2 separate regions of the Homo sapiens genome follow, and region 2 is linked to region 1. The links are contacts of gene promoters, found by promoter capture Hi-C in human tissues and cell types (Jung and others, 2019). All regions are on one chromosome and are shown on one strand. The core of a region is centred on a gene start or on the middle of the fragment in contact, and the rest is flanking DNA. Distances in the headings are between cores, read along the strand shown.

Region 1 (7,143 bases), core at 4,644-7,143:
TTACCTAAATTACCACAGCAGTTCCTTTTACTATTCATTTACCTCATTTACCATACTACTCACTTACCATATACCATAGAGGATCCTGTCCCTCCTCTGTTTAATCCCCCATTAGCTCCCAGGTCACTCAAGAGTGAAATCCCTTGTGTTTTCCTCAATCATACCAGGCTCATTCCTGGTCCAGGCTTTCTCTACCTCCCACTCCCTTTATATGGATGCTCTTTCCTCAAATGTCTTGGGTCTGAATTGTTGTCTTGTATCAGGGCTCTTTGCTCAAATGTTACTCTTTCATAAGTGCTTCCCTAAACACCCTCCCCACATCCACTTGACTCCCCATCTCCCTTTCTGCTTTATCACCATTGAACACATCTGTTTTTCATGTTTATTTTCTGTCTCTCCCAAGAAAATATGTTTCATTACACCAAGTTTTTTCTTTATTGCTGTATTCCTGATCCTAGAACAATACATATTAAGCTTCATGTTTAATGAAAATGACTGAAAAGCTTCCTAACTTGTCTTCCTTCTACTGATCTCCCCTTCTGTAGTCCATTTCCTCCTATCCCCCAGGTAGTATACCAAAAAATGCATCTGATCATTCTCCTGCTTAAAAGACTTTGATGGGATCCCCACATCCTTCAGGGTCTGGCCCCAAATTTAATCCGTTTCCCCATTCCCCAAAATAGTTGTACACTCTCCACATACTAACACTTTTATCATCCCTGAACCTACTTGTGCCATTTATCCATGCTTTTCGTGTATCTCTGTATTTACTTGGCCAAAGTTTTATTCATCCTCCAGGTCTAGTTATGCCATGATGTCTCCCAGAAGCCTTCATCTGTGTACCCCCACAGCACTCAGTTCAGGCCTCCATTATAGTACTTGTGCTATACTATGTATTTACCAATCTGTTTCTGCAACTAGATTATAAGATCCCAGAGAGCAAGTTCATGATGTTGTGTCCAGAGTTCTTTTGTCAGTGCTTAACACTATACTTAGCAGAGACGAAACACTGTTAAGTCTGAGGAATGAAAATGTAATGAATGAAATTTTATAATGAATGAAATATTTGTTTATGAGAGGTTGGGGGAAAAAAAGAGTCTTCCTGAGAGTCAGAGTGCTTTACAACATCAAACCTGAGACCTGATACGAGGTTTTACATTTGCTAAAGAAAAATTTCCTTTAGTAATTTCAACAATAGTTAAATTAGTGGATTCAGGAATCAGAAGTAAGTTAATGGCTAGTCAGGAAAGTTATTTACTCCACGGAACATACTAATTTACAAACCAGATATTGTGTGGAGCAAAAAGTGTACTCTAATCTGAGAAAAGGCATCTGCAATTTTTTTAATTAAAATTGATTTAAGTGGGAAGGAAAATTGAAAATGATCTAGTGCAACTACTTCATTTCACAAATGAAAAAAATAATGAAAAGGGGAAGAGCATTAACCCAAGTTAGAAGATCAGGATCAGTACCAAGGTTTTATTCAAAATGAAGGGCTCTCTCTCAAATGTAGCACATTACAATTCCAAACTACTCAAGGATTAAAGCCCAGAACTTATTCCATTACTTTGCTGTGCAAACTTAATGAAGAGTGAAGATAATATTGCAAGTAGGAAAATAATATTGCAAGACTGAAAATAATAATACCTGGGTTCTTATCTAGGTTGTATTTATGAGATCTCAGACAATTCACTGAACCTTGTAATGCTACCTTAATTAACTACCACATGGGATTAATGTGAGAATCAAATGAAAGCCCTGTTGCAAATGAAAAGTATAATCATCTTTTCCATCCTCATCCTTTCAGGTTCTCCAGTGCAGTCTCTTAGCAAGTTTTCAATCTATATGGGGGGCCATAAACCACTTGCAATTCTGACTAGTTGGAGTTTTGTTGTTCTTGTAGTACAGGACAGAAAGCTGCGAGGGAAGGGTGGGGAGGTTGTTTATGTATTATAAACCTCCTCCCAAAGGGGAGTATTATCCATATCACCTATCAGTTAAAGACTCTTTGAGACTCACAAGCTCTTAAAAGGTTCATGCTAAAAAATTATCTTTTTCCCCAGTACAAGCCCTACAAAACCTTTTACCATTAGTATATTTCAGAAAATTCTGTAACAATTACTTGGGTTATATTTATCTTTTCCTACTCTACTACAGATGTGTCCAAAGCAGGGACTCATAGTATTTCGTCTTCAGGAGTTGTGAATTGTTTTAATTGGGTCAACATCCAGTTGAAATATAAAACTGAGCGGCTGGAGTCGTGCCTGAGAGAACTGAATGAAAAAGAACTGAACGACGAGAGACCAGAATTATACCTCCCTCTGATTTCCCTAAATCCCTAAAGACCTTTAGAAACTAGGCTCTGGGCTTATGCAAAAGTCCTCTACTACATTCTACATAGCCACAAGTAGAATTAGAAGTATTTTTATATTAATAACATCTTATAAAATACAATGTTTTAACTCCAGGTGTGAAAATATTTAAAGGAAAGTACACTAAATGGATTTTTTTTAAATTATTCATTTGGCAAACAATCTTGTGCAAAATGTTCACTATATAACATGTACAAGGCCAGGCGTGGTGGCTCACGCCTGTAATCCCAACACTCTGGGAGGCTGAAATGGGAGGATGGCTGGAGCCCAGGAGTTCAAGACCAGCCTAGGCATATAGCGAGACTCTATTTCTTTAAACGAGAAAAAAATTATGCATTCTGTGAATTCCATTTACATTTAGAATCTCATTCTCATAAACAGTAATATTTTAATTTGTATAAAATCAAAGCAATTGTAAATATAAATCATAGGCTTCATTTTTTTTCCTGCATACACAATATGCCTTAATTTTTGAAAATGTTATAAAAAGAATATCCTTGGCTGGGCACAGTGGCTCACCCCTGTAATCCCAAAACTTTGGGAGGCCAAGGCTGGTGGATCACTTGAGGTCAGGAGTTCAAGACCAGCCTGTCCAACATGATGAAACGTGGTCTCTACTAAAAATACAAAAAATTAGCCAGGTGTGGTGGCGGGTGCCTGTAATCCCAGCTACTCAGGAGGCTGAGGCAGGAGAATGGTGTGAAGGCGGGAAGTGGAGCTTGCAGTGAGCTGAGACAGTGCCACTGCACTCCAGCCTGGGCGACAGAGCGAGACTCCGTCTCAAAAAAATAAAATAAATAAAATAAAATCCTTGAGACAAAGCCTAGCTCCATATACCAAGTTTCATATATTTTTCTCCACTTAATTCACAGAAACTTTTATAACAGCATAAAATAGCTATTATATGGAAAGATACAGTATTTTGGAAGCCCGCAGATTAGTCCATTTTTTCCCCAAATTTCTTAAGAATTTCCCAGGGAGCCTATGAAAAATACCCTAGAGATTCTGATTCAGTTGCTCTGGGCAGAACAAAAATTTATTCCCCAAAGTGATTCTGATGATTAACTATCATTGGGAAACACTGATCGAGTATAGCGGTTCTCAATTTGGCACATATTAGAATTTCCTGGGGAGCTTTTAGAACTCTTAAAACCCAGGCTGAGGTCCAGACCAACAGAAATAGCGCCAATACTTTAAAGAAAAAAAGTTCCCCAGGGAAGGTTTAGAACCATTGATCTGATCTTGTAGAATTTCTCCTGACTTCTAGTTCACTTTGTTTTTGATGTAGTTGTTTTGTTTTTCATGTGGGTTGACAAAAAAAGCATGAAAAAAAAAAACCATCTCCTTCATCTCAGCACAATGATGCCACTTAACAATTGGCTAAGTTAAAGTGGAGCTAACCTTTTTGTTTCAGAAATCACTAGAAAATACTTTTAGTCCGAATTTTAAATAAAATAGACTAATCTTAATCTTTAGCTCCTACTACCAACCTATTAACATATCTTACAAATAATTCTTTAAAGTTTTCTAACCTCTAAACCAGTATTTTAAAATTTCAAATTCTTTAAAAGGTCTGTCATCACAGTTCCTTACCAGCAAAATTATTTTGATACTTGAATTTGATGGCATTGTTTTTTCATGATGTACAATACATAACTCCATATATAGAAGTTACTTTGTGCACTAAGAGAGGGGAACAGATATTCTTCCATATTAAAAAAAAAAAGGATTTTAGGCTCCATTAGCAAAACCCCATCATTGGTTTGTCCATACCTCAAGAGCAAGGTATTAGTCAACCCATTCTAAGAATTTCCTTTTTAATACAAAAGATAACGTTAAAAAAATCATTAAAAATGTGCCAAGTGCAAGCTTATCATTTTTAAAAGTGCATTTTACTTTCCAAAAATTTTTACACTTTGATTGACGTGCCCTCTGGGAATCTACTTTTATTATTACAATACTGAAGTTGTTGAAATACCATTTTTATCCCTCTCAAGATTGCTAGGTATTTAGATATTTCAAATTTCAGCAGTGTTTGTGATTTTTGCTTCTGGGTTTTAAAAAACGTGTTTAGGATGCTTTACCAAGCCGATCACATTACTACAGATAAAACTTCAGCAATGTATATAGTCTATAGTAAAACGTATATTTTTTCTTACTTCTATTCACAAAGGAGTAATTGTGAGGTTCTAGATTTTCAAATTAATATTCTAAGTAAGAATCAGATGCAATGGATTTTGTTTCAGTAAGTTTAATGAATGAAAGCCCCCCTTTCGCATTATTAAAGATATATACGAATGAAAATTTGAATTATAACCAAAATTTAAGTATGCTACAGTATACTTTGTAAATGTCCCCAAACTCGAATGGAAACAAGAATGTGCCTCTTAAGGCACAGAGCAAAAAATAAAAAATCAGAATCTCAATATTCAAGTGATACACACCATCTAGAAAATTGGGCTAGCCGGAATAATCCATGGAGTTTTTACGTTAGGGTAAAACTGTGCTAAACTAAGTTTCTGCAAAGCCTAAGTATTTTGTGTTAACATATTAAACTTGAAACTTGCCATCTCAAATTCCAAGGGATAAGACTGTATACAACAGATGGCCTTTTGGTGCTGCTTAAAACTTCCCTGAAAACCAAATGTTTATTTTTTTAGAGGTGTTCTCGGTTCTCGGGAAGCAGTCAAATATCAAAACACCCATTCCTGAAAATTCCTGGCTGGTCCTATCTGGCCGGGAGCACCGACACCTGGACGGGCAGAAGCAGGACCTCAGCACCGAGCCGGGACGCTGAGAGCCGCCCGGCGCACACGGAGCCCGCCCGGGGGGCGGGGGGCTCGCACGTGCCCGGCCGGGGGCGGGGCCGGCGCTGGCGAGCAGCGACCCCGGCTCGGGGAGGCGGGCGCGGCCGGGCCGACCTCCCCCGCGGCCGCGATCCAGCAGTTTACATAAGAGTGCGCGTCATGGAACTGACGGAGCCACACAGAGACGTCTAGGTCATGCAGGAGGCGCCCGGCCCCGGCCCGCTCCCGCCGCCCCAGACCCCTCCTCTCATCCGACAGAAAGACAGACAAGAAGGGTTCCCGACCTGTCGTGCCCTGCATGTTCAGAGTCTGTCATGTTTGGTCAAGAACGGGGCGGGGCTGGAGGGCAGGTCTGCGAGGCCGGCGGCGGCGGGGCGCGGGGAAGACCCCCCGCGCCGCCTGCGGGAACCTGCTCCCGGCCGCCGCCGACAGGTGACGAAGTGGTAAAAACTCACGGTTACTAGTGAGCGACACAGACACAGACTTTCCAGTCTATTAACAACCACGCCAGAGAGATGGGGCTCTAACTGCAAACACTGGGCAACGGCCCCGCGCTGCCGGCGCTGCCGCTCTAGTCTCTATTCGCCGCCGGTGGCTGTGGCGTGGGAGCGGGCGGGCGGCGTGCAGCGACGCGGGGATTTGGACAGTGGCCGTAACGGTGATTTCTCCTCACCAACATGGCGGCACCCGAAACAGGCGGCTCGAGAAAATGGCGCCGGCCGCAACACCTTGCCCGGGACTAAAGGGCAAGAGAGATTCCTCCGCGAGCCGCGGCCCTTGCCCAGCCCGCCGGGGCCGAGCGCGTTGACCATTGGAGGAGAGTGCCCGTCAATCACCTGCAGGGGCGGGTCTTCGCCCTTCTCTGTGCAGCGGCGGAGGCGGCAGCCTAGTGGCGGGGCCGGGCGGCGAGAGACGCGGCCGGATGGCTCCTCGAGTGTCTGCAGGAGGGGGAGGCAGCCCACGGGACCTACGAGGGCCACCAGCGCTTCTGCTCCCGGCGCAGTACGGGCCGCGGTTTTTCCTGCGAGACGCCCGCCGCCCGAGGAGTTCCAGACGCACCAAGCAAACGGGCCCCAAAACCGTTAGCCGAGGCGGGCAGGGGTGGGATAACAAAGAACAAGGCGGCTGTAGAGTCCTTAAATTTTTTTGTGAAAACCTTTGTTCTTGTAATAATAGGGAAATGCAGTTTCTCCTTCACAGTTGTAGCAAGTATCTGTTTTTGTAACGTTTAGTGTTCAGAATCATGTTTTAAGGAAAATAGCTTGCCATGCAGTTTTTTCTTGTATTTGCTGTTAAATTTACCCAATTATTACTTAAATAGGAATAGCTATTGAAATAATTATATAAACGTTACTTTATTTCGTAATAATATTAACATGTAAAATGTATGCGAGTATTTTATAAATACTATTAGGCATGCCTTTTTTTTTTTTTTTTTTTTTTTTTTTTTTTTTTTTTTCTGAGATGGAGTCTCCTCTGTCGCCCAGGCTGGAGTGCAGTGTCGCGCTCTCGGCTCACTGCAACCTCTGCCTCCTGGGTTCAAGCAATTTTCCTGCCTCAGCCTCCCGAGTAGCTGGGACTGCAGGCACGCGCCACCACGCCTGGCTAATTTTTGTATTTTTAGTAGAGATGGGGTTTCCCCATTTTGGCCAGGCTGGTCTCGAACTCCTGACTTCAGGTGATCCGCCCTCCTGGGTCTCCCAAAGTGCTGGGGTTACAGCCGTGAGCCACCGCGCCCGACCATGCATGAGTTTTTTATACTTATGAAGTGACCTTAAAAAATTTTTAAATGACAAGTCAGTGTTTTGGCCTATTTAATATATTAGTCCTGAAGGAAAGTTCCTTGCTTTTTACTAAAATGATAGACTCAATGATTAATCCAAATATCTGACTTAATTTGTCTTTCCTTAATAATACATTTTACTAATACATAAATGGAATGCATTCAAAAACAATTGCAATGA
Region 2 (7,143 bases), core at 3,007-5,506, 160 kb before region 1:
CCTTCCAGCCTGAGGCTGTTTCAGGAAGAAACAGTCAGGCCCCGGCAGGTTTCCCTGCCCAAGGGGAGAGTCTGAGGAGGGGCCGACTCGGCAGGTGGAGCAGGGGGCCACTTTCATCGAGTTTGTGTTCAGAACTCACTCCAGGGTCCTTTTCTTTTGGGGCCAGGCAGGCAGCACCGTGTGGGACATTATTAGCAAGGAGAGGAGGGGCCCGGGAGAGCTCACAGGGCGTTTTGGGAGCTCCGTAGACAGGCAGGTCCTGAGGACTTTTGGAAAGGATAGAACAAGGTCCCGGGCAGCTTTGTGGTGGTCGAGAGCGAGGGAGGAGGTGGCCTCCCTGAGCGTGGATGGCTGGATGCAGGCCCCAGACCCAGGGGCAGAGGCCGAGAAGGGAAGGCGGGGGCCCAGGGACCACACTTGGCAGGGTGGAGGGGGCAGGGGGAGCCACTTGCTGGGGAAACTTCACCGGATGATCTGGGCTGAGGACGCGCGAGTGTGGAAGAAACGGCGCCTCCCCCGTGCCAGATGCTGCCCACCACCGGCACAGGGCCAGAGTTGGGGTCAGCAGGGCAGCCGTGTGCCCCCAGTGGGAGCTTGGAGGTCACGGAGGAAATGCGAGACCAGATGCAGGCAGGGGAGTCCTCCGGAGCCTGCAGGAGGGGGCCGCTGGCTCAGGGGCACCGGGAGACCCCCACATGGACAGGGTGGAAAGGGCTTTCTTCAAAGCCAGGATCTTGTCCCCATCACAGCGTCCCGCTACGCATTGGGAGCGCTTGCTGCCAGGAGGCTCCCCAGTCCCGCAGCAGCCCCTCAGCGGCTGCCCTCCAAGGAAGGGGCGCACAGACACTCCAGGGCTCCACAGCGCGCGGGCCAGGGGCCCCATCTACCCCCGGGGCAGCGGGACTGGGCGTGAGCCCGGCCTGGGACACAGCCCCTGCGACTGCACCATTGTTAGGGGCCTTCTCGGAGCTGGCAGACCTAGAACCAGGCCTAGGGGGTGGGGGTGTGCCTGGATGTGTGTTGCGGGGGTCTGAACCCTTAGTTAGGACCGGGGGCCCTCCTTTCCACTTCGTGCAGTCCCTGGGGTCTGGGGCATCCTAGCCATGCGTGGGGCCTCCCTGCTGGGATTGGAGACCCCCTGACAGCTGGGGCTGGTCCCAGCATTTTCGCTCTTCCCCCAGAAGGACTCAGATGCAGGGTCTTCTCTGCTCCCCGTCACACAGAGGGTGGCACCCCCGATGGGAACTCTCATTTATCACCAAACCAGAAGATAATGGAGAAACTGACAGAGAAGGGCTGCAAGCAGCTACCGCAGGGCGGTGTGTGGATGCAGATGGGATGGGCAGATGGAGGCGGGGGCCAGCATCGCTGCCTTCTTGCCCCTCCCAGAGGACCCCAGGTCCCCAGCTCGGGCGCCCCACCAGACTGGTAACACCTGCGTCTGCTGTTTGGCACCGGGGGATGAATCACTTGCTTTTCTTTCAACAGTGTTCTGTAGTTTCCAGTCTACAAGTCTTACACTTTTGGGTTAAATTTATTCATAATTATTTTATTATTTTTGATAATATTATAAATGGAATTGTTTACTTAATTTTACTTGAATTGTTCCTTGCTGGTGTATAAGTAGACATCTCATTTTTTTTAGTTGACCTCGTATGGTACAATCTCTTTGAACTCATTTATTATCACTGATGGTTTGTCTTTTTTTTTTTTTTTTTGAGCTTTCATTAAGGTTTTCTATAGATAAGATCATGTCAAGACACCCTCAGACCACAGGGCGGCGCCACCAGCCCGGCCGAGTGCAGCTGGAGCGCCGACGTCCCCGAGGATACACAGTGCTGAGGCAGAACGCAGGTTCGTCACAGTGGGCCTCCGTGGGCGGCGCCGCACGCTCGTCACAGTGGGCCTCCGCCGGCTACGCCGCTGCTTCAGTGGCTTGCAGGCACTTTCCTCTTGGAAGTGGCGACTGCTGCGGGGCTGAGCGGTGCTCGCACGCGTCTCGGGAGCCAGGTTGGCGGCGCGATGAGGCGCAGCAAGGCCGATGTGGAGCGGTACGTCGCCTCGGTGCTGGGTCTCACCCCGTCGCCTCGACAGGTGAGTGGGTCTGGAAGAGAGCGGCGGCCTCGACCCGGCCGGGCGGCGGCGGCCTCGACCCGGCCCGGCGGCGGCCTCGATGGGTCAGGGGTCATGGCTCCCGACGGGCGCTGCTCCCTGGCGCGCTCTGTTGAGGCGGCGGCCTCCACCCGGCCCGGCGGCGGCCTCGATGGGTCAGGGGTCATGGCTCCCGACGGGCGCTGCTCCCTGGCGCGCTCTGTTGAGGCGGCGGCCTCGACCCGGCCCGGCGGCGGCCTCGATGGGTCAGGGGTCATGGCTCCCGAGGGCGCTGCTCCCTGGCGCGCTCTGTTGAGGCGGCGGCCTCGACCCGGCCCGGGGGCGGCCTCGATGGGTCAGGGGTCATGGCTCCCGAGGGCGCTGCTCCCTGGCGCGCTCTGTTGAGGCGGCGGCCTCGACCCGGCCCGGCGGCGGCCTCGATGGGTCAGGGGTCATGGCTCCCGAGGGCGCTGCTCCCTGGCGCGCTCTGTTGAGGCGGAGGCCGGCTAGCGCAGTCCTGTGGGCGGCGTGGCGCTTGCAAGCGCAGGAAGAGTCCTGGGGGGACCGCGGCGGGCGGGAGACCTTTGGCGCCGGCTCTTCCTCTTTCTCCCGGTTTGTTCCCGACGGTGCTCGCTCGTGGGCTCGCCCTGGCCCGGGCTTTCTGGCCCCGTAGTACCCGCGCGGCCTAGTTCTCGGGGGCTTGGGCACCCGGGTGCTGTATCGGCGGGTTTCTTCCCATGTCCTGGACATTTACTTTATATGCCGCGGCGGAGGTCGTACCTCCTTGGCCTGGAGGAACCCAGTGGGGACTGACGCAGCTCCGGGTGAGCTTTGGCGGCTGCGTCGAGTGACAAGGTAGGCATCTCAGCGTGGACATTTGCAATGGCCCGATGGCACAAATGACACGGAAAGTCCCCTTGTTTTGAGTATGAGGTGTTTGTCGCTGTCCCTTTGTAAGGGTCCAGCTCCACTCCACTCCTCATACTCACCTCCCTCGCCCCCCTCCCCGCCCGGAACACTTTGGTAGCTGCCTTTGCTTAAAAAAAAAAAATTCTAAAGTTCTTACAAATCGTTAGTATGGCTTACAATTTTTAACCTTTTCCACAAGTGTTTTTAGGGTATTTTTCCTCTTTACAGGTAAATAATGTGATCTATTTTGGATTCAATAAGACTTTAGTCATTGGATCTAAAGAGTGACGGAAGAAGCTATTAAAGGTGGATGTGCGCAGAATCTTGAGTCAGTTTGCTTTGGCTTGAATAATCACAGCACTGTCGTTTATAAGCTGGGTATTTGGGGCCACTTACACTTTTCATCCATAGATGGAGTTGTAACATTGATAGAATTTGATAGGATGATCCATTTTAAACATTTAGGTTATTGCTTGACACATAGCACTAAATGTTAGCTACAAGTCACTTTTTATTGTTGATGTTAAAAGGATATTGGCCGGGCGCAGTGGCTCACGCCTGTAATCCCACCACTTTGGGAGGCCGAGGAGGGCGGATTGCCTGAGGTCAGGAGTTCGAGACCAGCCTGGCTAACATGTTGAAACCTTGTCTCTACTAAAAATACAAATAAAGTTAGCCGGACGTGGTGGCGCACGCCTGTAGTCCCAGCTACCTGGGAGGCTGAGGCAGGAGAGTCGCTTGAACCCGGGAGGCGGAGGTTCTAGTGAGCCGAGATCGCGCTACTGCACTCCAGCCTGGGCGACAGAGGGAGACTCCAGAAAAAAAAAAAAAAAACCAGAAACTCACGGATGACCATGATTATAATAGTAGCATAATTGTGTCTCTTATCATAACTAAGCATAGGTTATCTTATTTTGCGCTTCCAGCAACCCTGTGGATATTGAGACCTGTAGAGATTTAAGATACTTGTTCAGGGTCAAATGGGTAGTGCAGCAGAATTTTGGCAGTGGGTCTGATTTAGTTTCTCTTGGGAACAGTGCAGTAAGTTACAGTCTATTCCTCCAGAGAAGGATAGATATCTACTTGTACGTTGTAATTTCAAACTGCTAGCATAGTATAAATATGAATGTGATGGTAAGAGTCTAAAACAGACCTTAATTGAGGGTTCCTGTAACTCCTGAAATTAAAGACTTTAATTTTTGTGTTATTTTATTTTTTTTGAGGTGGGGTCTCACTCTGTCACCCAGCTGGATGCAGTGGCACTATCTCGACTCACTGCAGCTTCCGCCTCCCCAGCTCAAGCGATCCTCCCACCTCAGTCTCCCGAGTAGTTGGGACCACAGGTGTACCCACCACACCCGCTGTTTTGTTTTGTTTTGTATTTTTGGTAGAGACTGGGTTTCACCATGTTGCCCAGGCTGTTCTTGAACTCCTGGGCTCAAGTGATTTCCCCGCCTCCACTTCCCAAAGTGTTGGGATTATAGGCGTGAGCCACTGCACCGGCCATTATTTTGTTTTTGAGACAAGGTCTCTTTCTGTCTCCCAGGCTGGAGTGCTGTGGCGGGATCGTGGCTCACTGCAGCGTTGACGTCCTGGGCTCAATCCGTCCTCCCACCTTAGCCTCCTGGGTAGCTGAGACTACAGGCATGCGCCACCATGCCCGGCTTTTTTCTTTAATGTAGAGACGGGGTCTTACCATGTTACCCAGGCTGGTCTCCAACTCCTGGGCTCAAGTGATCCTCCCGCCTTGGCCCCAAGTGCTGAGATTACAGGTGTGAGCCACTCTGCTCAGCCTGATTTTTTTTTTAAACAAGCTTAAAAAAAAAAAAAAGCAACCTTAGAGCCTTTCTGAGATTCTTAGTGGGGACCTTGGCTTCCAAAAGATTAAAAACCACTGGTCTAGACAGAAGTCAGAATGTTCTTTCAACTACATAACTTCTCCATTAAATAAAGTGGAGTGGTAGCAACATTTTGACGATTGGTTATTATGACCACCTCTCTTACACTTAGAGTCTTTTTTTCCCCCCCAAATTTAAAGTCATTTACATTAGAACCTGGGGATTTCAGCGGAATATGGATTAACTAGTGAGTAACTGGAACATGTGAAGCTATTCTGTAAAGTTAGGTTTGAGTGAAATGACAAAACAGGGTGCTTTGGATAGAAGGTAAAGAATGGAGGGAGAAGAGGCAGTGGCTGTGAAGAATATGAAGAGGTTAGTATTCTCCCCCAGTTTGGCAGAGGCTGGCCATCTGTGAACTGCCCATGCCTTCTAGAATGTCGGAGTTTTGGTGTGTGATGATGCGTCTGTATATCATATCTTTCTAGTCTTCCATTGTGCTTTCATTTGTTAGTCTTCTCTTGTTTTGCCATTTTTCTACTCCCTCACATGTGCTTTTGCCCTTCTTAAAAATATTCTTCGTCTGTAATCCGAGCACTTTGGGAGGCCGAGAGACCAGCCTGACCAATATGGTGAAAATCTGTCTCTATTAAAAATACAAAAATGAGCCGGGCGTGGTGGCAGCGCCTGTAGTCCCACCTACTCGGTAGGCTGAGACAGGAGAATTGCTTGAACCCTGGAGGCAGAGGTTGTGGTGAGCAGAGATTGCGCCACTGCACTCCAGCCTGTGTGACAGAGCGAGACTCTGTCTCCAAAAAAGAAAAAAGGAAAAAAATATAATTCTTTCTCTAGTTTTTCTTTTTCCCGATGGCTTCTGTTTAGTTTTTCTATGTTCTGTCAAGTCGATTTCTTATTCTGCAGCTGATTCCTACTTCTCAAAGTCTACTTGACAGCTCTTATTTTTATTTATTTGTTTTTTAGAATAGGGTCTTGCTGTGTTGCTCATCAAATTTTTGGGCGTAAATGATCCTCCTACCTCTGTTTCCTGAGTACTTAGGACTACAGGCAGGCACCTTTGACAGCTGTTAGTTGTTTTTTCTGCCCTTTACATCTATACTTCATACTTCTGAGTAACACACATATATACTTTTGTTATTTTTAATTCCCTTTCTCCCATTTTAGACATTTTCTTTTCTTTTCTTTTTTTTTTTTTTTTTTTTTTGAGACGGAGTCTGGCTCTATCGTCCAGGCTGGAGTGCAGTGTCGCGATCTCGGCTCACTGCAAACTCTGCCTCCGGGGTTCACGCCATTCTCCTGCCCCAGCCTGTAGCTGGGACTACAGGCACCCGCCACAACACTCGGCTAATTTTTTAGCATTTTTAGTAGAGACGGAGTTTCACCGTGTTAGCCAGGATAGTCTCAATCTCCTGACCTCATGATCCGCCCGCCTCAGCCTCCCAAAGTGCTGGGATTACAGGCGTGAGCCACCGCGCCCGGCCCCATTTTAGACATTCTGTACTGGCTATTATGCTCCTCCAAAACTGTCCTCAGACACTTTGGTTTGCCCCTCATTCTTTCAGTACTGTTACTGCAGTTTTTGTTTAAATGAATAGTTAACATTTATATAAATAGAAGGTAAATATTTTTGCATTTGAATTGCCCTTGTTGTGCAGTTTTTTGTTGTTTTTTTTATTATACTTTAAGTTTTAGGGTACATGTGCACATTGTGCAGGTTAGTTACATATGTATACATGTGCCATGCTGGTGTGCTGCACCCACGTTTTCCTGGACTGAATAATTGCTTTATTTTTTGGTTTGCTTGTATGTTGTGTTACTACTTGCTTACTTAAACTCAGCAATTTAAACCCTCAAATGTGGTCAAACTGGTCACATAATCCCATCAATTTCAGCTTAAAACATTGATTGATTGATTGATTGTCTGTCTACCTGGAATACCCTTACTAACCAACTTCTCCAACCCGGATTGGTTTTTCTTCCTCTTTGCTACACAGCTGTGCTCTTGGGACTTCCCTTTATCACCAGTTTGAGAATTCCCTTCATCTTTTTTCTGAGTTAGACCCTTTGTTTCTTGTATCTCATGTCCTCTTCATTTACTTTCTTTGTTTTGGTGTAGCATAGTCTCACTTGCTTTGAGGAAAAGTGGATGAGAGGTTTTTTTGTTTGTTTTTGTTATGGGACAGAGTCTTGCTCTGTTGCCCAGGCTGGAGTGCAGTGGCATGGTCTCAGCTCACCGCAACCTCCGCCTCCCAGGTTCAAGTGATTCTCCTGCCTCAGCCTCCCGAGT

Evidence for each region. Contacts are between HindIII fragments. The study calls those that stand out against the background at their distance.
Region 2: a fragment that was not itself captured here is called in contact with the fragment with the promoter of ZC3H6 in region 1 in 1 of the 25 tissues and cell types used here (dorsolateral prefrontal cortex).

The regions. Positions count from the first base shown.
Region 1 is chr2:112,274,347-112,281,489 of GRCh38, reverse strand. It overlaps ZC3H6 (zinc finger CCCH-type containing 6), which reads right to left and starts at 5,893. Exons shown (of 12, transcript NM_198581.3): 1 at 5,464-5,893. The coding sequence starts at 5,495. RefSeq lists a silencer at 5,124-5,603 and enhancers at 5,794-6,003, 5,619-6,191. The HindIII fragment of the contact is 17,114 bases long and covers 2,373-7,143 here.
Region 2 is chr2:112,428,333-112,435,475 of GRCh38, reverse strand. RGPD8 (RANBP2 like and GRIP domain containing 8) reads left to right here and starts at 1,831. Exons shown (of 23, transcript NM_001164463.1): 1 at 1,831-2,094. The coding sequence starts at 2,023. RefSeq lists an enhancer at 265-1,243. The HindIII fragment of the contact is 7,995 bases long and covers 259-7,143 here.